Regions from separate parts of the Homo sapiens genome. Here regions 2, 3 and 4 are each linked to region 1. Evidence: promoter capture Hi-C in human tissues and cell types (Jung and others, 2019). All regions are on one chromosome and are shown on one strand. The core of a region is centred on a gene start or on the middle of the fragment in contact, and the rest is flanking DNA. Distances in the headings are between cores, read along the strand shown. Region 1 holds the start of STK32B (serine/threonine kinase 32B). Region 2 overlaps LOC101928306 (a long non-coding RNA gene). Region 3 overlaps STK32B (serine/threonine kinase 32B). Region 4 overlaps STK32B (serine/threonine kinase 32B).

Evidence for each region. Contacts are between HindIII fragments. The study calls those that stand out against the background at their distance.
Region 2: a contact is called between a fragment that was not itself captured here and the fragment with the promoter of STK32B in region 1, in 2 of the 25 tissues and cell types used here (aorta and bladder).
Region 3: a contact is called between a fragment that was not itself captured here and the fragment with the promoter of STK32B in region 1, in 3 of the 25 tissues and cell types used here (H1 embryonic stem cells, IMR-90 fibroblasts and mesendoderm cells).
Region 4: a fragment that was not itself captured here is called in contact with the fragment with the promoter of STK32B in region 1 in 3 of the 25 tissues and cell types used here (H1 embryonic stem cells, aorta and heart right ventricle).

What each region holds. Positions count from the first base shown.
Region 1 is chr4:5,049,929-5,056,774 of GRCh38, reverse strand. It overlaps STK32B (serine/threonine kinase 32B), which reads right to left and starts at 5,295. Exons shown (of 12, transcript NM_018401.3): 1 at 4,860-5,295. The coding sequence starts at 4,911. RefSeq lists an enhancer at 4,055-4,593. The HindIII fragment of the contact is 7,679 bases long and covers 1,678-6,846 here.
Region 2 is chr4:4,962,337-4,968,334 of GRCh38, reverse strand. All of the region lies in intron 2 of LOC101928306 (a long non-coding RNA gene), which reads right to left. Among named protein-coding and RNA genes, the nearest start is that of CYTL1, 54 kb to the left of the region's middle. The HindIII fragment of the contact is 5,372 bases long and covers 1-4,559 here.
Region 3 is chr4:5,121,073-5,126,983 of GRCh38, reverse strand. All of the region lies in intron 1 of STK32B (serine/threonine kinase 32B), which reads right to left. Among named protein-coding and RNA genes, the nearest start is that of STK32B, 73 kb to the right of the region's middle. The HindIII fragment of the contact is 9,200 bases long and covers 1-5,911 here.
Region 4 is chr4:5,164,501-5,170,999 of GRCh38, reverse strand. It overlaps STK32B (serine/threonine kinase 32B), which reads right to left. Exons shown (of 12, transcript NM_018401.3): 3 at 2,550-2,701. Among named protein-coding and RNA genes, the nearest start is that of STK32B, 120 kb to the right of the region's middle. RefSeq lists an enhancer at 4,455-5,654. The HindIII fragment of the contact is 6,524 bases long and covers 858-6,499 here.

The DNA.
Region 1 (6,846 bases), core at 4,046-6,545:
ATGTGACACAGTCCAGCCAATTAGAGCCTCAAATCTCCCTGCTCACAGTAATTGATTCAAGAATACCCAAGACTCAGTTAGAGCCCATCAAAGTAACCGTGGGACATTTTCTGCAACTACTATGAGAAAGATACTCCTCTCTTTTCCATACTCAGAGTTCTGGAGCTATCAACATGGAGGGGGCGGGAGCCCCATGAAGAGAGAGCCCGCCTGAGAATAAAGCACAGAATCCAGGAATGAAGATTCTTGATATTATGGGGAGCCTGCTTCCAGCCATGGCTGATGAGATTGACACCTTCATTCATTCACTCATTCATTTATTCACCAAAAAATTACCAGGCATCTATTATGTTACAGGTGTTATTTTAGGCCTTAAGGATACAGAAGTGAATAAACTATGCAAAACTCCTACCTTAAGGAGCTTGCAATTCCTTAGGAAGAGACAATCACATAAGATCCCTGTATTGAAGGCAGTGGTCCCCAACCTTTTTGGCACCAGGGATTCGTTTCATGGAAGACAAATTTTCTATGGACAGAGGGAGGATAGTTTCAGGATGAAACTGTTCCACCTGAGATCATCAGGCGTTAGTTAGATTCTCATAAGGAGTGCACAACCTAGATCCCTCACATGCACAGTTCACAGTAGGATTTGCACTCCCATGAGAACCTAATGCGGCTGCTGATCTGACAGGAGGCAGAACTCAGGCATTAATGCTCCCTCACTCGCTACTCACCTCCTGCTGATGGCCCAGTTCCTACAGACCACGAACTGATAACAGTCCGTGGCCCAGGGGTTGTGGATCCCTGATTTAAGGTACTTGCACTGAGTGGAGAAAGACAGACAATAACCAAGAAAATAAGTAAAATAAATATTATGATAGATGGTGATAATTTCCACAAAAAAAAATAAAGCAAGGAAAAGGATTTGGAATGACATTTTAAGTAGGGTGGTCAATGAGAGTCTAATGAGTCAACAACATTTTCCTGGAGACCCGAAGGAAGTGAGAGTGGGCTGGGGGGGAGATGCCCTCGGGCAAGAGGGGCAGGTGCCAGGGCTATGGTGTGAGGGTGCAGGGCATGTCAGACGAGCAGGAAGGAGGCAGGTGAGCCAGGAGTGACAGAGGAAGGTGCAGTCTCAGAGGGTAGCACCTGATGGGCATCTATAAGGACTTCAGCTTTTATTTTCTTAACGATGCAAGTTGTGCCTAGGGCTGGAGGGAGGATTTGAGGGTGGGCTGAGCAGAGCAGAGGACTGATCTGGCCCATGGCATGTTTTAACAGGATCACTCTGGATGCTGCATTGAGGGGACAGTGACGGGGGTAGGGACAGACCATGTAAGGACTTAGGGAGGTGACTGTAATAATCCAAGCAAGAGCTGTGACATGGCTTGGACAAGAATGGTAGTGATGGAGAAGGCAAGAAATGGCCAGAGCCAATTTATTCCCCTAAAAGCACTTTGTGAGCTCGGGCAACAGAGTGAGACCTTGACTCTAAAAAAAAAAAAAAAAAATTAAAAATTAGCCAGGCATAATGGTAGAAGCCTATTGTCCCAGCTACTTGGGAGGCTGAGATGGAAGGACCCCTTGAGCCTGGGAAGTTGAGGCTGCAGTGAGCTAAGATCCCACCACTGCCCTCCAGCCTGGGTGACAGAGTGAGACCTTTTGTTTTTTAAGAACAAAAAAGCACTTAATGTTGCTTTTCCATCATTTGCAACTGGAGGAGGCTCAGCTAACGTGCCCTTTTTCACCAAATGTTAGATGCCATCCACAGTAAAGCCACCATTATTTTATGCAACACTTGGAAAAAAAGCAACTCTGCCTATTAATCTGTGGCATGATCCTTTCTCTGCTTATTATATATCATGTGAGCGTGAACAGCTATGACCACTTGCACACAATGAGTTAAACTTTTGCCTTAGGAATGTGGATGACGGTCCTGTCACAATTACACAATGGCAAATATTTAGCTGTGGTTTAACATCAAAGTACTTAAAAATCAGACTTGTTCTGGTCAGGCAGGTGTTTGCATCTTCAACCTTCAACCACGCAATGACTATGGTTTGGGAGAGCTTGTTCACTGGACCATGTCACTCCCTGCTTAAAACCCTTCAGTGACTCCAAAATGCCTATAAGATCAAGTCCAAACACCTGACCACGGCCACTGGGCCCTTTAAGGCCGGCCAGGCATTCAGGGTTCATCTTTTGTGCCTTTCAGCTTCATACTCCACAATGCAGGAGTACTAAGCCCCCTCAATCCCCCCACATGAGCCAGGCTTACTCTTTACCATCTGCCTTTGCACATACTCTTCCCTTTCTCTGAAACGTCCTTCCCCCTTCTATCACCCACTTCTTCCCCCCAGGTAACTCCTGCCATTTCTGCAAGATGCCAGTCTAAAAGAGGAGGCCTTTTCAGATCCCTCCCCCCACTCTGAGTTAGGGACCCTCCTCCAGGATATCAGTCGCCTGAGCTCACCCACGTCAGGGCACTTACACACCCTGTGTTTTCCAGGTGGTTTACTTGCTCTGGGAGCAAATTGTTAACACTTTGCCTTCATCCTCCTCATATTCCCGGTCCCCAGCACAGGGGTGGGTACAGAAAATACAAATAGTAAATGCCTACGAAATAAATGAGTCGGTTGGTGGCAAGTAACACTGTTTTACCTGTACTAGGAAACGTGTGAGAGACATACTGGCAAAATCAAACAAGTTAATGTTTCACTGGGCTGGGCAATGGCAAAATGAGGAGAGCCCTAACCTTATATTTATTTATATTTATTTATTTATTTATTTATTTTGAGATGGAGCTTCACTCTTGGTGCCCAGGCTCGAATGCAATGGTGCGATCTCAGCTCACTGCAACCTCCGCCTCCCGGGTTCAAGCGATTCTCCTGCCTCAGCCTCCTGAGTAGCTGGGATTACAGGTTCCCGCCAACATGCCCGGCTAATTTTTGTATTTTTAGTAGAGTCGGGGTTTCATCATGTTGGCCAGGCAGGCCTCTCCTGACCTCAGGTGATCCGTCCACCTCGGCCTCCCAAAGTACTGGGATTACAGGCATGAGCCACCGCGCCCGGCCTCATAACCTTGTATTTTAACAAGCACCGAAACAGGCAGTTAACCTTAGGCCCAATCTGCTTATAGAATAAGGAACAGGAACAGGAAAATCAAAAGGTTGGCTACACCAGAGATAACTATTTTGCCAATGAATATTTTCAAGCTGGGGATAAATGACAGAGACGGTTTTCAATATAAGGGTGGCAAATTTCCTCTGTAAATAAAAGAGAAAGATGCTAGGAAAATTAGCAAAAGCATGACCTTTGACCCAGGCTAGAACCACAAGCCCGTGCAATTGAGGGTGATGCTGCATAGTGTTCAAACTCTTACTGGGACATGCAAGAGCCTCCATTACCTCTGTGCCCACCTCTCCTCTGTCCACAACTGGCTCCTTACCTGCTCACCTGCACATGCTCCAGACTAAAGATCAGGAAAAGCTGGGGCCTCTCTGTGCCCCCAAGACCCTGCACTGGTTTCTCAATGCCCTTATCACCATGGACGGTCATTCAGGGCCATTAGACTAGGAACTCCTTTAAGGAAGGCTCTCGTGGGCCTGACACAGCAGGTGCTCACTTAACCTTGACTGTGTTCATCTATCTTTTTGAGAAGGGCTGTCCAGGCAGGCATCTGAGTAGCACTCACAGCCTTGGGAGTTCTAGAAGCCATCCATGATGTACGCACACAGCCAGTGCCCTGGGTAATGATGACAGGCACAGCTTTCAAAGCAGACTGTCCTGCCTCAAGCCCAGCTCTACTTCTTACCAGCAGTAACCAGGACAGACCCCTTTCTAAGGTAGCCACCTCAAGGGGCATGAAAAGGATGGAGTGAACACTATGTGCTAGCATGGCTGGAACATAGTAAGTGCTCAGTATGTCTCAGCTCTTACCTGGGGCACAGTGGAGACTGGCGAGTCAGCACAGTAGGAAACCAGCTTTGAGAGGCAGAGGGCTCTTAACATAAAAAACGGCACAGCTCGGTACTGCTTGCATTTATAAGGCACTTTTCACGTGGATTACTAGTGGTTAAGCTTCAAACAACCCTATAAAGTAGCTAGTGGTATCATAACTCACATTTCATTGATGAAGGGACTAATGTTTCAGAGAGGTGAAGTAAGTTTTCCAGGGACACGCTGCACTGGAAAGAGGGTTCTGCTAGTCCAAATAGGGAGCTCTATCGACCTGAACCGCAAGGATCCAGCCAGGAAGTTGAGATGCGGTTGGACAGCCTACACCACTTCTGCGCCAGGGGGAGGCTGCCCAGAACAGGACGCCCTCCTAGGAACCACAGAGTTTAGCAAAGAAAAGTTTCCCTCTGTCCTGGGTGATTGAGGAGAGCTGCATCCAACAGGCCCTTGCACGAGACCAAATGCGTCGTGGGCACGCGCACACACACACAGACACACGGTGCAACCCGCCCTTCCAGGCCACCTCCGTCAGCCTCAGGCTCTCAAGGAAACCTCGGTTTCCTGGGGAGCCCGAGCCTAGAACCATCCCGACTGGCCTCCGAAGTCAACTCCTCCCTTCCACACCCCCAAGTGCAGGTTTCGGGTTCAACTCTCTGAAGCCGCCTCCCCAGTCCCGCGCTAGGCACCGTCCCGACTACTAAACGGCACTGGGTACCTAGGAGTTGCCTCAGCAGAAGCGCCGCGCCTGGCACGGGTCGGGCACACACTGCATTCGCTGGGCGAAGTGGCCATGCCTGGGTCCCCGCGCCGGGCAGCATGCGGTGCCCCGCAGGGCTCGGCCGAGGGTGGTGGAGGAAGGGGATGCCCCGCGAAGCGGGAATTCGCACCTCTCGCTCTCTTACCTTCCTCATTCTCGTCAAACACGGGGGGCTTGTGGGAGTGGTTCCCGCCCATATTCCGCCGTTGCTGCCGCTGCTACATGCCCGGCCGCTGGGATGCCGGATGCGGGATGTGGGACGCGCGCAGAGATGCGGGATGCCGGGGGCGCGCCCAGTCCGGGTTGTAGCCGCGCGCGGAGCCCGAGGGGGCCGAGCACCGTGCAGGGGCGGGGACGGCGTCCCCCTTCTCCTGGACGCCCTTCCGACTGCGCTCGCAGGGACCCCGCTCTCGCCGCGCCTTCCGCCGTGCCCCGCCTCGGGCTGCGCTCGCAGCTCCTTACTCCAGTGCCCGCCCGGGAACCCGGGAGCTCCTCGCGCCGGGGCCAACGTGCGGCGCTCCTCGCCGGCTACAGCGGGCGGGAGACGCGAGGCGGCGCGGGAGCAGGGGAAGGAGGGGAAGGAGCGGGGGAGGAGGGGACGGACGAAGGCAGCACGCAGTGGGCGGCGGCAGGGCGGAAGGAGCTGAGAAAGGGATCGGCCCGGAAGAATCTGAATCCCTGCTCGGCCCTCCTCCCTCGGCCGGGAGCTCGGTCCCTGCAGGCAGTAAGCGGTTTGTCAGCACCCACTATGGCCAGGCCTCGGCTACGCGCTTTGTTAGCACCATCCCACATCCGCCTCCGACAACCCAGCAGTAAGAAAGCATCGTTCATATTTTAGAGCGCAGTAGACGGAGGTCTAGAGGTAGAGGGGCTCTTAGGTCTGTGGTTAGTCGGCCCCGGCTGCGAAGGGAGTCCCAGGACTCCCCGCTAGCCTGTATTTGCCCATTCATATTGGGATGGGCAGTGGAGTGTCTGCTGGCTCTCCAACCGACGCTGTTCCTCTTAAGGTTTTTCTCAGTGTTTAATGAATGAAAGTATCTGTTTACTTTCTGACCCCTTAAGATTAGATACTAATCTGACCCCTTCATTGTACATGGGGAAACTGAGGCCCCAGACAGCCATAGTTTGCCCCAAACCATTCTCCCTGGGAATGGCTGGGCATGAGTCTCGGGATTCCCCCAAAATTGGGCGGCATCGGCGTCCGATTTAGGGGCGAGGCTAGCATGAGGGTCCCTGGGCTCCTGCGGCGGGAGCCTGGATCGGGAGATACGCGCCACAGTTGCGGGTGCCTAAGTAAGGGGTGCGGCAGATGCGCCCCAAGACGTGTGGGGCGAGCGCGGGTTCCCAGGACGCTCCCTGAGGGACAGGCAGGTCCCCCTGCCTTGCAGTCCTGCGGGCCCAGCTCTCCGGGACTGCAGGGAATCTTTGGCTACATCCTGCCATCTGCTGGGCGCCTGGAACCACTGTCCGTGCTTTGATAGAAAGCAGGGGTTCTTTGTGACTCTCTCCATCCTATCTCGTCCCCCAGTCCCCGTCCCCTACCTGGTCTCTCTCTCCAGTTCTCTCCCCTTCTTTCTTTTTCTTGGGAGAAGGGTGAGGGAAGCCGGGGAGACTCATACAGAAACAAAACAAAACAAAACAAAACAAAAAATCTCTTAAAGGCAGTGGGAAAGAACTGAGAAGGTCTGAGGCAGGCCCACCCACCATGACCCAGAGCTGGCTCTACCATTTACTGGCAATGTGTCCCACTTTGGAGTTCTTATCTGCAAAGTGGGCTGATTGATATTAACTCCTTGGGTTGTCTGTGAGAATTATATCAGGTAATATTTATAAAAGCAGGCAACAGTGCCCGGCATATAATAAATGATGAATAAATATTTCTTGCCTTTCATTCCACCAACAAGCATACACTGAGTAGCCAGTGTGCAGCAGGCAATGCCCTGAACACAGAGCTGGCCCCTAGCTCAAGAAGCATAGGGCGGAATGTGGACAGGCATGGGCTCTGGGCTCATTCTACCCAGGTTTCATTCTGCTTTGCCCCTCATTAGCCAGTTAACTTGGATAAATTACTTAACCTGTTCTGGACTCAGTTTCTTCATCTGAGTCCAGAAGGTGCTAATAAGAGAACTTTC
Region 2 (5,998 bases), core at 624-3,123, 85 kb after region 1:
TCTGGGGAGAGCCGGATAGGCCTCTCCAACAGGTCCAAAAATGGCTTGAGAAATTGGAAAAAGGAGACTAGCTTGGGGATTTTATCATGGCTAGGGGGCTGGGCTGGGTGAAAATTCCTGCACACTGTGGGCAAGGGCTTACCTGGTTGAATCTCCCACTGATGCCAATGGAGAGAGAATCCAGTTTTTTTTTTTATCAGTTTGCTCAGATAAGGAAAGGGTGGGTGAGACTGAAAAGGCATCATCAGTCAAACATGAAAAAATAAAAAAATAACAGCAGAGGCAGACTTTTTATGCAGTGAGAGGCTGCCATGCAATCATCTACTTTTCTCAAGTGGGTATGTTAATATGTTAAAAACTACTTTCCTGTATCTTCCATCTCTCTTTCACTTCTGAAGGCTCCAAGGTATGTGACCTGGTGATTCGCCTTGCAGTTGGCCAGGTGAATGTCCTGCTATAGGTAAAATCTCCCCATAGAGGGTCCTACAGCAGGCCTCAGCAGGCCTGGGTATGGTGGCAGAGTCAAGCTGAATTCTCCCCTCCAGCAATGAAGCTAAGATCTCTCTGACTCCTGAATCTATTTCCAACTTGTTTCCAGACTTTAAACTCCTTAAATCGCAACATAAGAATAACCTTTTGGGCCAGGCATGGTGGCTCATGCCTGTAATCCCAGCACTTTGGGAGGCTGAGGCAGGTGGATCATTTGAGGTCAGGAGTTCAAGACTAGCCTAGCCAACATGGTGAAAACCCATCTTTACTAAAAATACAAAAATTAAGTGGGTGGTAGTGGTATGCACCTATAATCCCAACTACTCAGGAGGCTGAGGCAGGAGAATCACTTGAGCCTAGGAGTCGGAAGTTGCTATAAGCCGAGATTGTGCCACTGCACTCCAGTCTGGGCAACAGAGTGAGACCCTGTCTCAAGAAAAGAAATAAAAAAGAAAAAAAAAAGAATAATCTTTTGTATATAATATGATATCACTATGTAAAACAAAAAATAACTTGAAATACTGAGTACTAGAATATTGTCAGTGGTTGACTTTCTATGATACTTTTCTGACTTTTCTATGTTTTCCAAATGTTTTGAGTGCATATTACCTTTAAAAATTGAAAGATATTTTATTTTAACATTCTCCTCAACGTTATTCTTGATCTGTGAACTCCCTTACAGCAGGGTTTAGATCTGTCATGGGAGAAAATCAGAAGTGAGACTAGAGAAGAAGGAAAAAGTGACGGTCCCCAACAGCTCTGTTAGGTATGAGCCCCCAAGTGAAAAATCACCACCAATGTGAAGCTTTGCAAAAGGTAATTCTTGTGCCAAGAAAAGTCTGGGCAGAAGTTTGCTTTGCTTTTTACAAAGTTACAAACTCTTAACACCCAATCTTTTTTTTAGGCAGATACGGTTCTGCTGTATTGCCCAGACTGGAGTGCAGTGGCTATTCACAGGTGCATTCATAGTACACTACAGCCTTGAACTCCTGGGTTCAAGGGATCCTTCTGCCTCAGTCTATAGGCATGTGCCACAGTGCCTGGCTCACCAACACCTAATTGTCTCTTAGGCTTTGGTATTCTGTTAATGTATTCATCAGGGAAGGCTAGGTAACCAATAGTCTTAAACATGGAGTAGCCCAACACAATAGAAGTGTATTTCTTGCTTATGTAACAGCCACAGTGGTGACAGAATAGCACAAGTGAAAAATGGATGTGGGAATATCCCTTATTTGATGAAGCCACTCAGGGACCCAAGCTGACCAAGGCTTTGCCCCCTCCAACTAGTTGCTTGCAAAGTTGCCTTCATCATCTCCATTCCAGACAATAGGAGGGAGGAAGGCCCGTGAGAGGTTTTCGTCAGCCAAGAAGGAAAATGGCACACATCACTTCTGCTCAATTCCATTTGGCTAGAACTTAGTTACTTGGCTACTTTCACTGCCACGAGATGGGGAAACATAGTGTCCACCAAGGAGCAAAAGACACGGATTTTGATGAGCCACTATCACTTTCTATTAGTGTTTTAAAAGCTGGTTCTATGCCCAGCAAATAATCACTTATAAAGGATCCAAAAATAATGCTGGATCCCACTAACCAAATCAAATAATTAAACATCTTCAAAACTTTAAATTACATTTATAAATTGCTTACACTCAATTTGATTTTAAATATCTCAATGATCTGACAACTCTTCCCAATACTGAAGTAATTCTTATACATCAGATAAACTTACATAAATAATGAAGTATATATATATGAGATATAGATATACGATATATAAGATAGGAGATCTATATCTTATATCATAGATATGACATCTACAGGATATGAGATCTACATCTTACAGATATAAGATCTATATCTTATATCTATATAAGATATATATTTTATATTATATATATAAGCTTAGTAAGATTTCCGCTTAAAATCACAAATATAAATCAATTATTGAACTGTATATTTAATTGGAGTCAAAAGACTACCACTCTAAAATATCAAATTATCTTAATACCAAATTTATACTGATTCCTTAATGTGAAAAAATAATGTGATGTGTTTTGAGTCTCTTACATACATTGAAAGCATCCTGGACTTTGTCTTGTTATGTGTGATTCTTTCTCCCTGGTCACACTTTGCCCCAGCCCACTGGATAATGCCAGAATTTGAGGGTTGTTATTGGCTTAGGTGTAATGAAGTGTTTTTGCAGGAGGTCTTGAGGAGGGTTGGCAGTCCCCCCATCAGCAACAACCTCAGTGAATCTCACTAGAGTTGCAAGCAACAGGAGGTGAACCTCCTCAGACAGGGGAGGAGTGCTGCTTCTGCTGGCAAAGGAGGCTTGGCAAAGTCTAGAAGTTCAAAGTTTTCATTGTCACTGGAATCTGCCCATGTGTCCATTTCCAATTCTCAAGGCCCTGCTGTTTCCCAGTTAACATCATAACTTAAAGATGAAATAATAAAAATGAAAACATATGCTCATGAATGTTTATAGCAGCTTTATTCATGACAGCCCAAACTGGAAACAGTCCATTCATAGGAAAGCAGGTAAACAAGCCGTGGTATTTAAACAATGATATACTACTCTGGAAAAAAAATGAACTGCCAATACACCCACAAACACAGATAATCTCCAAAATATGATGTGAGTGAAAGAAGCCTTACACAAGAGTACATATTAGGTGATTCCATTTATATAAAGATCTAAAACAAGCTAATCTAATCTATAGTTGAAGAAACAGAGGTTACCTTTACAGATGTGGGGGCAGGGATCAATTGGGAAGGGGTAGGAGGGAATATGTTGCGGGTAATGTCCAGACTTTCATCTCTTTGATTGGAATTTTGTCAGCTAAATGTCCACTTTCATAGTCTACAAGTTCTGCTTTCCAAATAATGGTTGGTCACAATTCCACTAAGTCTTCTGCTGCTCTGTAACTAGGACTCACTTTACTCCAGTTCCCAATAACACGCCTCTCAATTCATTTTGAGTCTTCACCAGCAGCACCCATATTTCTACCAACAGCCTATTTATGATGATTTAGGTATTCTCTAAGACAATATAGGCTTTCCCTGCTGTGCCCCTTACTTGATCCTGAGTCTTCACCAGCAGAGTTCTTAAGATCCCTATTTCTACTGAGAGTAGGTTCAAGGCAATTTAGGCCTCATCTATCATGCTCCTGAAAATTCTTCCAAACTCCACCAATTGCCCAATTCCAAAGTGACTTCCACATTTTGAGGTATTTCTTGTAGCAGCACAACATTTGTGGTACCAAACATGTATTATTGTTTCCTATTGCTGGTGTCTCATATCACCACAATATTAATGGCATAAACAACAAAATTGGTTATCTTACAGTTTAGGAGGTCAGAAATGCAAATAGGCCACACTGGGCTAAAACCAAGGTGTTGGCAGAACTCCATTCCCTTCTAGATGCTGTAGAGGAGATTTCTTGCCTTTTCCAGTTTCTAGAGACTGCCCACATTTCTTGGCTTGTGGTCCTATACCTCTATCTTCAGTCAGTAATGTTGGACCAAGTTCTTCTTATATTGTCATATCTTTGAGTATACTGCTTCTGCCTCCCGCTTCTGCTTTGAAGAATCCTTGTGATTATTCAAAGGCTCACCAAAATAAACTAGGATAAGCTTCTCTTTTTATGGTTAACTGATTAGAACTTTAGTTCCATCTGCAACCTTAATTCCCCTTTGCCATCTCTATTAGCCCATCCTCACACTGCTATAAGGAACTACCTGAGACTGGGTAATTTATGATGAAAAGAGGTTTAATTGACTCACAGTTGTGTAGGCCTAACCAGAAGCATGACTAAGAGTCCTCAGGAAACTTACAGTCATGGCAGCAGGCAAAGGGGAAGCAAGCACCTTCTTTATGTGGTGGCAGGAGAGAGAGAGAGCATGAAGGAGGAAGTACCACACACTTTTAAACCTTCAAATCTCCTAAGAACTCACTCACTATCATGAGAACAGCAAGGGGGAAATCTGCTCCAATGATCCAATTGCCTCCTACCAAGCCCCTCCTCCAATGTGACATGAGATTTGAGTGGGGACACAAATACAAACCACATCACTGCATGGAAATCTTTAGGCAGCCATTTTCCTGCCAACCACACCCAGCCTGGAGAGAATTCTCATGAAGTGACAGGGAAAGCAGTAGCCCACATGGAGCCCAGGGATCACCTTGACTGGAAGTGATTGAGCTGGGAGTCCAGGGAAGCTAAAGCAGGTAGAATCCACAAAGGAGATTACAAAAGAGGAATAAGGAAAAGTAGGGAATAAAAGAAAAATACCTGAGACTAGGGAAAGAACCACTAGGAAGGATTAGAGGGAACAATCTCTGCAGCTTACTTAAATACAAGAAGAGTTCCTCTTCCCTCCAGCTAGAGTGGAAAACCTTACTATTTGTGGAACATCCAGTAGAAAAATCAGAAACCTATTACTTCAGTAGTGGAGAGAAATTTGTCCTAGACTAAATGATGGTCTGGTCCCACCTCACAAGCTTAAAAGAAATAACCAAAATAATTAAACTGTTTTCAAGTAACTTGCCTGTATCCCAAAAGAAAGCACAAAAATATAACAAAATACAAAAATATCTAGCACCCAACAAGGTAAAATTTACAGTGCCTGTCATCGACCAAACAGTTACCAGGCATGCAAAGAAGTAGGAAAATATAACATATCACTAAGAGAAAGAGCAGTCAATAGAAACAGACCCAGAAATGACATGGGTTGTAGAATTAGTAGACAAGGGCATCAAAAACAATTATTCTCACTATGTTTTATGTATTCAAAAATGTAGATGAAAGATTGAGCATATTAAGAAGCAACACAAGAGATATTTAAAATGCCCAAATTGAACTTCTAGGGGTTAAAAATACTTCTAAGATAAAAAATACACTGGATGGGATTAAGGACAGATTTGATACTGCAGAAGAAATAATTTGTTAAATTCAAGATTTAACTGAAGCTATTTAAATTGACACAAGGAGAGCAAAAAGAACCCTCCTCCCGCAAAAAGCAGACACGTATAACTGGAATCATGAAACAGAGGAGATAGAAAAATGGGAAGAAAAAGTATTTGAAGAAAGAATAGCCAGAAACTTCCAAAGTTGGTTAAAACCATAAACTCACAGATCCAAGAAGCTCAACACAGGACAAGCACAAAAATCCTGAAGAAAATAAGACTAAGAAACATCATAAACTTACTTGCTCAAAACCAGTGATAGGCCAGGTGCAGTGGCTCACACCTGTAATCCTAGCACTTTGAGAGGCCAAAGAGGATGGTTTGCTTAAGCCCAGGAGTTTGAGAGCAGCCTGGGTAACATAGTGCGATACTGTCATATCTTTGATTATACTGCTTCTGCCTCTCTCTTCTGCTTTGAAATTGGTCAGGAATAGTGGCACATGACTATAATCCCAGCTACTCAGGAGGCTGAAGTGAGAGGATCAATGCTGCAGTGAGCCATGATCCTGTCACTGCACTCCAGTCTGGGTAATAAAGCGA
Region 3 (5,911 bases), core at 993-3,492, 73 kb before region 1:
GAATAGACAGTATCCCAACTATTACCTATCACCACTCCCCTTTCTGCTGCTCAGTATTGAACTGAAAAATATCAGTAGACTCTAAACCACAAATTAGGTCCCAGACCCTGTATTATTCATTCCCTAAAAAAATCAGGAAATTGATAACTGGGTTATCAGTAGAAATGGCCATGTTTTAGATATTACAGAGCTGCCCGTCGAATCATTTGTTGAGAGATAGGCGGCCTTTACAGGTGATATAGTCATGTTACTTTCTATTCACCTGATTTGTCCTAAGTTGCACTGCTGAGGGTTGGTTTAAGAAGTAACTAAAGCTATCTCACCTGGCGCTGTCAGCTCTGATTCTACTCTACCAGAATGAAGAGCTAAATGACAAAATGATGTTTCCAAAATATCTTTTTATTTCTACAACTCCAACATACACAGGTGCTCATCTACTTTGCCATGGGAAGATGCCCAGGCAGCACTAGACAGTGAGACACTGGGCAGTGTGAGTAGCACAGCTGTCCTGGCGAAGACACCCTAGACTATCTGACAACCAGCCAACTCCCAGATAAGTGAGCGAGCCCAGCCACGCTCAGCAGGGCTGGCCTGCAGGGCAGTGGGGGCCTGAAGGCTTGCCGGAGTGGCTGCTAAGTAGTATTACCGACAAGGAGGTGGAGAGAACAAGGGAGGGATGGAGGGAGAGAAGAAAAATGACAAGAAGGGATGGAGATAAAGGGCACAAGGACTATCCTAAGAGGAGCTGGGAATTTTAGCTACAGGAGAACTAAAACAATTTTAACAAAGAAGTGGAGGACCCACTCTATCCAATAGTAAGGCCTTCTCTGTAGCTCCAGTACTCAAGACTGGGTGGTATGAGAAGACAAACAGACATATGGAGGAATGGAACATAATGGAGAACCCAGACCCACATGATGTGCCCAACTGGCTTTTGACCGAGGTGTAGAAGCAATTCAGTGGAGGGAGGATGGCTTCTCAACAAATGGTGCCAGGGCAACTGGACAATCACAGGCCAAAGTGAAGCTCAACCTAGGTTGAGGCAAGGGCCTCCGGTAGATCTGATGGGGGCAGATCACTGAACAATTCTCCTAGATGGGAATAAGAGGCAGCCCCTTCGTGGGGGTCTGTGGGAGAGGGAGGTCCACAGGAGGCAGAGTTACAAATGCAGTGAAGTCACTGGGTTTGAAGCAAGGAGTTGGGGAGTAGCTATTTTCACTGTGAAGGAGGAAGCAGACCTCTTGATGAAAGCAGAAGCAGATAGAAAGTGAGAGAACAGAGGTGCGGGGATGAGAGTAGAGAGGAAAACCAGGGAGACGTGTCCCAGATGACCCTGGAGCCCAGACATATGCATTTGGCCCAGTAGCTTCCAAAAGCCAACAGTGGGTGCAGCAGCAGGCTCAGCCTGCTGGGCATCTCCCTGCATCGCTGGCCTCAGGCCAAGTAAGGCTGCTCTGGTCCACCACGCCCACCCACACCAGGTGCTGCTGCAGCTGCCCCCATGACTCTGCCTGAATCCCTTGATTCCTGTCTCTAACCATAAGCTGCTCAGGGAGGGGGGCTGGAGGGACCTATTGCATTAATTTCTACATTCTCAGTTCCTAGCCCGAGGCCACACATAGGAAAGCTTTGTATTAGTTTTCTATGCTACAAAATAAATGATCAAAAATTCAGCAGCTCTCAGCAACACGCATTTACTAACTCACTGTTCTGTAGGTCAGAAACCTGAGCAGGATCAACAGGGTTCTCTGTTTAAGGTATCAGAAGACCAACATCAAGGTGTTGACCAAGCTGCTCTTGTTGGACATCTGGGGAAGAATCTGCTTCCCAGATCATTAAGATAATTAGCAGGATTCCGTTCCCTGCAGCTGTAGGACTAAGGTCCCTGTGTCTTTGCTGGTTGTGAGCTGGGAGTCTTCTCAGCACCTAGAGGCTTGTCTAGTATACTGCAACAAATCCCTCTTCCGCTTCAAATCTACCTTACTTTCCTTTCTGCTAATAGTTGAAGAATTCTGTCTGCTTTGAGAGAGTTCCTGTCATTAGATTAGGTCCACTTGCATAATATCCTCTTCACAATGTAATGGAACATAACCCAGGAGTAAGATTGGAGGGGAAGGTTCATGACGGGCCATCTTAACATTCTGCCTCCTACAGGACCCAGTAGGTGACGAATTCTTTGTTATGAACAACCAAAGAGTAAGGATGTCCCCTAAAACACACACGTGCATCTATATGCATGCTCACACATACACACATGCATACAGGTGCATGCACACAGACATGTACACATGTGTGCACACATACACACAGTCTTGTTCCCTTAGTAGCCTAACACAAACTGGAATAATAAAATGGGAAGCCTCATTGAGACCCTTTATATCTATGACCTGTAGTGTCCCTGTAGAGTTAAGATCTTCTGTTTTTTTGTATTTCCTTTCTGACCTTCCATGAGGATGTGGCTCTATTCCAGGCCCTGAGCCAGGAACAAACCAAACTCAGTCCTGGCCACCCAAGCCCTCACTTTCTGGTGGGTTAGGAAACACTGCATGAGATGTGGGAGAAGAGAGGGACTCTCAGGAGGCAATGGGCTGGGGGCCAAGAAGGGAATGTCCACCCACCTCTAAGAGAGTCAGGGAGGCTGCAGAACTAAGAAAATGCCGATGGTTTTACAGAGAAGAGCAGAAAGCACATAGCTCTCAGCAACCCAGTGAAACCTTTTGCTCACTCGGACATCTGATGAACTTAGAACAGCCGGAGATTTCGGGACTTTTTCTCTGTGAGAGAGCAAAATTATGTAATTTGAGGGAGTGAACTCAACAAGCTGATGGGGTTTGTGATAGTTCCCCTGGCCAACAAACTGGGAGGATGCTGACATTTTGGCAAAACCAGGGCATGAGAGACCTACTTTTTGAATAGATGATATGAGAATTTACCTTACCTCTCTTCTCCTCTGCTCTAATAAAACAGAGGTCACAGGTGTGTTGTGAAAAGTAAATGAGATCACACATGAGAAGGCTAACAGGCTTTGATCAGAGCCCCACACATACTAAGTGATCAATAAAAGGCAGGAGGGAGGATGGTGAAAAGGTGAAATGACATGAGGATGAGGAGATTGATGATGGTGGTGGTGGTGGTGGTAATCATAGTTGTCATGGATCAAATTGTATCCCCCCAAAACTCATGTGCTGAATCCTAACCCCCAGTACCTCAGAATGTGACTGGATTTGCTTATGTGGTCTTTAAGGAGGTAATTAAGGTTAAATGGGTCAAAAAGGTGGGGCCCTAATCCAATATGACTGGAGTCCTTGTAAAAAGAGGTGATAAGAACACAGATGCACCCAGGGTGGCCACGTGGAGGACACAGAGGGAAGGTGGCCGTATAAAGCCAAGGAGAGAGGCCTTGGAAGAAATCAACCCTGCCCACACCTTGATCTCAGACTTGTTGCCTCCAGAACTACAAGAAATAAATGTTTGTTGTTGAAGCCCCCCAGGCTGTGACACTTTGTTACAGCAGCCCCAACAAGCAAATATGATAACAATGATGCTAGCATTGTGATTGGAAAAGCACGGGGCTGGGTGTCATCAGGACCCCGGGTTATGGACAAAAACTCCTTCAATCCTCATTTGTGCCGGCTGCATGAGGCTCCAAGGAAGATGAAGCCGGGTGCAGAGATAGCAGCCGGGAGGCATGTAGGATCCAGGCAGTGAAGAAATGGGGGAAACTTGAGAGACACATGGGAAACTGACCAGCAAGACCACGGGACACAGCCAGAGAAGTGTGGAGCAACACCTTCTGTCTCTACAGCTTGGGGCATGAGTGACACATGGACAGCAAGGCCTCAGGGAGCAGAGCCCACAGGAGAAAGAAGAACCACTCTGTGGGGAGGTGGGGAAGTTGGCTTGGGTCCTGTTGAGTTTGAGGCAGCTGTGGTGATAAAGAAGGGGACCCAGCAGTGAGAAATGAGAAAGGGAGCTGGGATTTGGGCTCCACAGCCACAGGAGGAAATGCATGAGCTGGTGCAGGTGGAGCAAATAGAGAGTCAAGGCAGGGGCTGAGGGTGGAAGAGCACCAACAGCTGAAGTAGGTGGAGAAGGGACTCAGGCAGAGAAGGGGTGCACAGAGAGCTGGGAGAGAACCAGGGAGAGTATCATGGAACCCAGGCAGGAGAGTGCAGCAAGGGAGTGGTCCAGCAAGGCCAACGCCAGATGCAGTCAGCCCAGCAACCTCAATGAGAGCCAGGACCTGCACACAGTAAGTCCTCCAAGCGTTGGCAAAGGAACAGCTGAGTGAGTAAATGAGTGAATGAGTAAATGAATGAGTGAATGAATGAATGAGTAAATGAGTGAGTGAGTGAATGAGTCAGGGAATGAATAAGTGAGTGAGTGGGTGGGTGAATGAGTGAGTGAATGAGCAAGTGAGTGAGTGAATGAGTGAGTAAAAGAATGAGTGAACGAAGGAGCAAGTGAATGAATGAGTAAATGAGTGAATGTGTGTGAATGAATGAGTGAAGGAGTTAACAACTGAATGGATAAGTGAGTGAATGAGTGAAGTAGGTTAATGAGTGAATGAATGAGTGAGTGAGTGAATGAATGAGTGAGTGAATGAATGAGTGAATGAGTGAACAAGTGCATGAATCAGTGAATGAATGAGTGAATGGGTGACTGAATTAATGAGGTAATGCATGAATGGGTGAGTGAATGGGTGAGTGAATGAATGAATGAATGAGTAAATGAGTAAATGTGAGTGAATGAGTGAATAAGCGAGTGAATGAGTAAAAGAATGAGTGAATGAGTGAGTGAAGGAGTGAAGAAGTGAATAAGTGAATGAAGGAGTGAATGAGTGTGTGAGTGAAACAGTGAATGAATGGGTGAGTAAGTGAATGAGTGAGTAAATGAGTGAGAGAATGAGTATGTGAATTAGTGAATGAATGAGCGAGTGAATGAATGAGTGAGTGAATGGGTGGACACTGTGAACACACAATCACTCTTGCATGGTTCTATGGAGGTTGATCCCTTCTGTCCCATTTCCCACTGACAGTGAGATCTGCATGGACAGGCCTGGGCTGTGTTCTCCTCAACTTTTCTGGCCCCTCACTTGTGGCTGGCAGCCAAGTGGTGCCCAGGACAAGTCTCCTGAACAGGATGATTGTCCCTGGCCTGTCCCTGGGGACAGCAGTCTCCTTAGCTGTCACAGCAAGACTGAATACAGACTTTGGTGCCAGGCAGGTCCCACTCCAGCCTCATCCCTTCCACCCACTAGGACCTGAGGCTTTGTTTCCATTTCTGTGAAGTGGAAACAATAATATCTCTTACCTTCAGAAGTCATTAACACCCAGTCCAGTACACTACCTGGTGGATCAAACCTGCTCAACAAATTATGCCTGCTGTTATCCTTTGCCCTTGGTGTTATTGCTATCATAATTGTGATTACTGCTGATAGGTCCTATTCTCATTAATATTATTATAATGACCTGATTGCACAGACAGAATTGGAGCCAGCTTTTCCTCTTTCACTAGTTTTATGATCTGTTCCCTAATCCTTAATAGAAGAATCATAACAACAGCTATATAACAGGGTCGTTGTGGGACCAAATTCTTTTAATACATGTAAAGTGCTTACAATTTGCCATTGCAAGGAAATGGAACCAACCTAAATGCCCATTGACCAAGGAGTGAATAAAGAAAATGTGGTATATATACACCATGTAATACTACTCAGCCATAGAAAGGAACAAAATGGATTTTGCAGCAACTTGGATGGAGCTGGAGGCCATTATTTGAAGTAATTCAAGAATGGAAAACCAAATATCATTTGTTCTCACCTATAAATGGGAGCTAAGCTCTGAGGATGCAAAGTCCTAAGAGTGATATAATGGACTTTGAGGAGGTTGGAAGTGGGGAGGGATAAAAG
Region 4 (6,499 bases), core at 2,870-5,369, 120 kb before region 1:
GAATGGAGATCATTAAAAAGTCAGGAAACAACAGGTGCTGGAGAGGATGTGGAGAAATAGGACTTTTACACTGTTGGTGGGACTGTAAACTAGTTCAACCATTGTGGAGGTCAATGTGGCGATTCCTCAGGGATCTAGAACTACAAATACCATTTGACCCAGCCATCCCATTACTGGGTATATACCCAAAGGATTATAAATCATGCTGCTATAAAGACACATGCACACGTATGTTTACTGCGGCACTATTCACAATAGCAAAGACTTGGAACCAACCCAAATGTCCAACAATGATAGACTGGATTAAGAAAATGTGGCACATATACACCATGGAATACTATGCAGCCATTAAAAATGATGAGTTCATGTCCTTTGTAGGGACATGGATGAAGCTGGAAACCATCATTCTCAGCAAACTATCACGAGGACAAGAAACCACACACTGCATGTTCTTACTCATAGGTGGGTATTGAACAATGAGAACACATGGACACAGGAAGGGGAACATCACACTCCAGAGACTGTTGTGGGGTGGGGGGACGGGGGAGCGATAGCATTAGGAGATATACCTAATGTTAAATGACGAGTTAATGGGTGCAGCACACCAACAAGTCACATGTATACATATGTAACAAACCTGCACGTTGTGCACATGTACCCTAAAACTTAAAGTATAATAATAAAAATAAAAATAAAAATAAAAAAAGGTGCCTAAGTAAAGGCTACTCCAACACATTCCTTTCCTTTAACATACATCATACAAGCTCCACTAGGCATCTGATCTTCTTAGTCCACCTTAAGGAGTCCCACCTGAAAAACTTCAGGTTCAGAGATAATCATCTCAGCAGTATTTACATTGGCAAAATAATTAGAAACAGCCCAAGTAACCCACATGACAGAATGAAGGTTCGATTAGATGGCTTATTGTGCTTTTCCTTAGTGGAATATTATGTAGCCATTAAAAATGATTTACAAAGAGTTTGCAGTAACAAGGAGGTAGCGCTCCCGCCAGATATTAATTCAGAAAATGGAATACAAAATTTCTCTGAATGTTTATATATCAATAACACATACAGTTATATGTCATTGATATGAAAAAAAATACAAGAAAAGGAGTATAAAAATAATTACACACCAAAATTTAATCTGAGTCTGAAGAGCTTCTGGGTAATTTTTGTTTTCTGACGTATTTTATTTTCTATATTTTGCCAAGAACACATATTGCTGTTCGGATTAAAGATTTACTTTAGAAAATTCCCTTGCATAGCAATCAAAACATGACGGGGTTTATTTCTCCCAAACAATCAAAGTTTTTAGATCACTGCACAGAGACACGAAGAACTCTCGGTGGATACTGAGACTCCAGCAGACAAGGTTTGGTTTGGGTTTTCTCCATGGCAATGCCCATGTCTGTGGCACCTGGCACGCACACCTTGATTTTCTCAGATGGGACAATCTGTGTTCCTCTTTGTTCTCCTATCATCCAATGTTCAAAGTGCTTCTAAGTGTGCAGGGCAACTGAAATCAGTGGTGGTCAAGTATGTGCAAAGCTAGACTTACCCCTCCAGGGTGGCCATCCCAACTCTTAAGGTCAGTGGGTCAACTGATCCGCTGAATGAAATGGTCAGAATTTGTTTCCTAAAGCGGCCTGTCCTCCCTCTCCCCTTCAACACAATCCAGCTTAGGAAACATTTGCTAAGTCCCTCCAATGTGTCAGATACTGTGTTAGACTACCCAGAAACAAGCAATTTCTGTGTGAGGACAGATAAGTAACCCAATAACCTGGGTTCACTGTGATAAAGATGGCATTAGGTCAAACACAGGAGAAGACTGAGGTCGCGAGGGGCACTCAGCTGGCCTGTGGGTCTTCAAGGGCTCTTGACCTAAGGGTTTCCTAAGCTGGGTGCCAGGAATGCACAGGTGTTGGTTAGGGGACACTGGAGAAGGGGACGTGAGTGTTTTAGGAAGATATTTCACACGCAAAAGCACAGAGGCAGGGAACCACCAACAGGATGTGTTTCTAGGATGCACATTTAAAGTGAAGATAATAGCCAAGGACGGGTTGGAGTGAAAGTTCTGAAACATGGGTGATGGCAGGTTTTGGGGGCAGGATAGAGAATTCCGAATTTGGTACGTCCGTGATGGGCAGCCATCTGTACTGAAGTAGAATACTGGTTTCCAGTTGCCCTTCCTGCCATCAGCTGTATGGCTGTGACTTTCTGAAACACTGAGCTCCCCACTCCCTTTAGTAGCCTATCTTCGGCATTCTCTTATAACGTTCCACGTATCTTCTCAAATACGCAAAACACTTCTCCATTTATTTTCAACTCTGATTCATCAGATAAGAGGACAGAATTAAAATGAAAATGAAACATATGCCTATAGACTTCATCAGAAAATGTACTCTACAAAATACTTAAGAATAACTGAACCCAGAAAATTGCATCCCTTTCCCTTTACAATGCGGAAGAGTCCCTCTAGCAGAGGCGAATTTGCATTTGGCTCCCCACAGGGGAACCCACAGGAGCCCTGGATGGAGCCACACTCACCACAGATTGACCAGGAAGGGGTGCTCCAGCCCTTGCATGATCTGCAGCTCCCGGAAAACATTCCGAACCTCATCCCTCTCGATGCACTTCTGCTTGTTCATGTACTTCATTGCATACATTTTCTTAGTGTCTCGCTTCTGCACGATGCATACCTGAGCGACAGCCAAAGGAGAGAACAGTCAGGCCAACAATCGAAAAGGGAGACAAAGGAGAAATGTCACCCCGCACTGCATTTTTACTTCTGGATTCACGTCCCTGTTCTTGAAATCTGCTAGGGGAGCAGCTCTGCTAAGTTAGGCACAACCTCTCTGCATCTGCAGAATGGAGGAGTTGGACCAGATTCATCCATTTATTAAACATTGACATGAGCACTGGCCATGTACTAAGTGTTGAAAGAGGAGATGCAAACACAGAAGATGGAAGAAGCAGGCCTGCCCTCAAGGGGCTCACAGCCCACGAGGAAAATAGATAAATGCAAAAAGCACCAGTGACTATAACCCTGAGATGTGTGGCGTGCACGAGTGTCGCAGACTCCGTCTGTGCCCACCTGAATCTCCTCACCTTTCCCACTTCTGCACCTACCTGCCTGACTTCCATCCACCAGTCCTGCATTTCTCTCCCTGAGGACTCTCTTTTGCCAGTAGGGCCCACTTTGCTGCCCATGTAGCAGACCAGCCAAGCCAGGGAATTAATGTCCTCAGAGCAACATTCGATCCACGACTGTTAGAAACGGGAGTATCAGTACCCCCACTCCCTTGCCCGTCACCTGGGATGAGGCTGATGCCAGTGTTTACACTGGCTCCCGGAGTTTGTAAGTTTGCCTAGCCCCACAGTGGGGTAACAAGCTTAACACAGCACACCCTTTCCTGGCTGTCTTCCTTCCTACCCTTCTCTGTGTTCTTTCTGCCTCTCCCATGCCCTGTCCTCAAATCTTTGCCTTGGAGCCTGATTCTGGGGAAACCCAAACTCAGGCACATGGGTTCTGGGGGAGCACAGGAGAAGCTGGGGACAGCTATGATGACAGTGGTCCTGTATTGAGCACTTTACTGCAGGTCAGACACTGAGCAAATCATCTCCTTGACCATCTCACTGAATCCCTATAAGAACCTTATGGATAAAGCATGAGGGAGCTGTAGCCCCAAGTGTACTAATTAACTTGTTCAGAGTTCAACAAACCACCAAGTGGCAGGGTGGGGGTTCAAATCCATGAGGCCTGGACTTCTGAGCGACTGCCTTACCTGGGGGCAGTTGGGGGCAAGGTGGGAGGATGGGAGCTGTCAGAGAAGGCTCTCCGCAGGATCAAAACCAGGGGGCAAGCTCTAAAGGATGGGAAGATGGTAAGGGTGAAGGAAGAGGCTTTGAGGGAAAGGGAATCCTGTAACGGAGGGCGTGGAGCCGAGGAGACACAGCAAGCACAGCAGGAAAAGTGAGCAGGGCTGACATGCACATGTGGCATGGACAGTTAGCAAGGATTGTATGAGCTAGTCTTCCCAACACCCCGAGGAGGGACTGTATTGGTTCCTTGGACAGTTAGCAAGGATTGTATGAGCTAGTCTTCCCAACACGCCGAGGAGGGACTGTATTGGTTCCTTGGACGGTTAGCAAGGATTGTATGGGCTAATCTTCCCAACACCTCGATAAGGGATTGTGTGGGTTCCTCAGGTTGCTGTAACAGTACCTCAAACTGGGGGATTTAAACAACAGAAATTTATTGGCTCATAGTTCTGAGGGCTGGGAGTCCAAAACCAAGGTGTCAGCAGGGTCCTGCCCCCTCTGAAGGCTCCTGGGGGGATCCTCCTCTGCCTCTTCCAGAGTTGGGCAGCTCCAGCAACCCCTGGTGCCCTTAGCTTGCAGCTGCAGCTCTTCCGTCCTAGGCTCTGTTGTCACATGGCATCCTCCCCTACGTCTCTGTGTCATTCATCTTCTTATAAGGACACCAGTCAGAGTAGACTTAGGCCCACTCTCATCTAGTATGACTTCATCTTAACTAATTACACTTAAAATGACGCCATTTCCAAAGAAGGCCACATTCTGAGGTTCCAGGAGGAGTTGAATTTGGAGGGGTGGGACACCGTTCCATCAAGGACAATGACTATTACTATCCCCGCTTCACAGAGAGAGGAAAGTGAGGCCTAGAAAGGTTTTAGTGCTTTCTCGAGGCTCAACTCAAACCCAGGCTCTCTGCCTCCCCAGCTGTCACTTTTCACCCACAGTGTGGCCTTCCTGAGAAATGGGACACGCCGGCAATAACGCTGTTGGCTTGAGGACCCAGCGAAGGAACTCGGGGTTTTCTCCTGGTGTCACAGCCTCTCTTCTGTTGGAAATTGACCCCACTCAGCTCTGACACGTTGCAAATCTATTCAAGGCAGATACAGGACGATGGCAGAAGCCTGATTTCCGACTCCAGCTTTGGTTCTTTGTGCCTCTCTTGGCCTCAGTCTCCGCATATTTCTGAACTGAGTCAGCAAAACCCACCCGGCACCACTGGGGTGAAACCAAACAGGAGCAGGAAGTGGGAGTGCCAGGCGGCACTGAGGGACGATAAATGTCAACTGCATCTCAATGTATTAGATAGCACGTTGCATGAAATCTCCAAAAAGATGTTTTTTCCACAGAGTAAAATTTACGGCATGAGGTCGAAGGCCCACAGAACACCCATTTCCAGTAGTGAACGTGAGAATATAAAATGCAAGGAGGCAAAGGTATGACGTGCAAACGTACCTCAGGGGTCCTGGCTTTGTGGGAATCCAAGCAAAGACTTCTGGAGGCCCGGGCACCAGGCTCTGAGACCCATGTCTGAAGCCAGACATGTCGTGGGAGGATAATCCCACTAATTAGAATTTGTGGTCTCTCTCACTTCTCATTCGCCTTCTCAGAAGAGACAGCAGGCACTGCCTCTGCGGGGCTGGGACCTGGCTGTCAGCTGGCTGCATCGCTGTGAAAAGCTTAGGCTGGGAGACAGTCTGTGTAGCGTCCCCGGGGCTGCGTCCCTTCAGATAAAGACATCCATGGCGCTTCTGGGTTTCAAGGGACAGCTCTCACCTCAGCTCAGAGACATTTTAGGAATTGGAAGAGACTCTCCAAAATTAAATTAAAACTGGCTTTCAAAGGAGAACTCATGATTTCAATAGAGCTTGGAAGTTTGACTTTTCAATACAAGCAAAAGCAGGCGGTTGATACAGGATATTGGATGCAGCCTGGAAGTTTTGATTTGCAAATAAGAGAGGCCAAGGATCAGGGGTCTTGGCCAGCTTGATGCAGAGACCTGAGTGTGGCTGGCATCCATTCATCATCTGGGCCTTGACTACCTCCTCGGTAAATTCAGGGCTAAGACCTCATGCTATCTAAGGCACCTCAGAAAAATTCTGTTTCTCAGGAACACAGAGCAAAGAGAGCTACACCAGGAGTCAGGAAAACTGGGCTCTGGGCCTAGCCCTCTTGCAGATTGAGTGGGGCTGTGCACAAACCTCAGCCGCTCTGGACTTGCTTCCTCACTGACCAAGAAGGGTTGGTAACAACAGCTTAATTAACCTGACCAGGAGATAGAGGCTAAAAGAGAAAAAAACAAAAAACAAAGAGCTAAGCTAAATCTAATGCACTGAGTGGAGACAAGTGGGTCTCCAACGGGTGGGTCTTCCAGGGAGTCACAGAGTCACAGAGAGTTTGAGCTCAGGGGCTACTCCTGAGCAGGGCTTAAATTCCAGCTGTTTGCTGTGTGACCATAGGCAAGTCGCCCACCCTCTCTGAGCCTCATTCTGCTCATCGGAGATCCTGCTGTTCACCCTGTGATAATACAGTGTAAAGCTAGCAGCCTGCAACCTGGAAAAGGGCCCACTCCAGAATCTGACCATGCTGCCACCTTAATGTGGGACTTGCAGCCTCTAGAACTGGGAGAAATAAATCTTTGTTCTTTTAGACACCCAGTCTGCGGCATGTGTGATAGCAGCCCA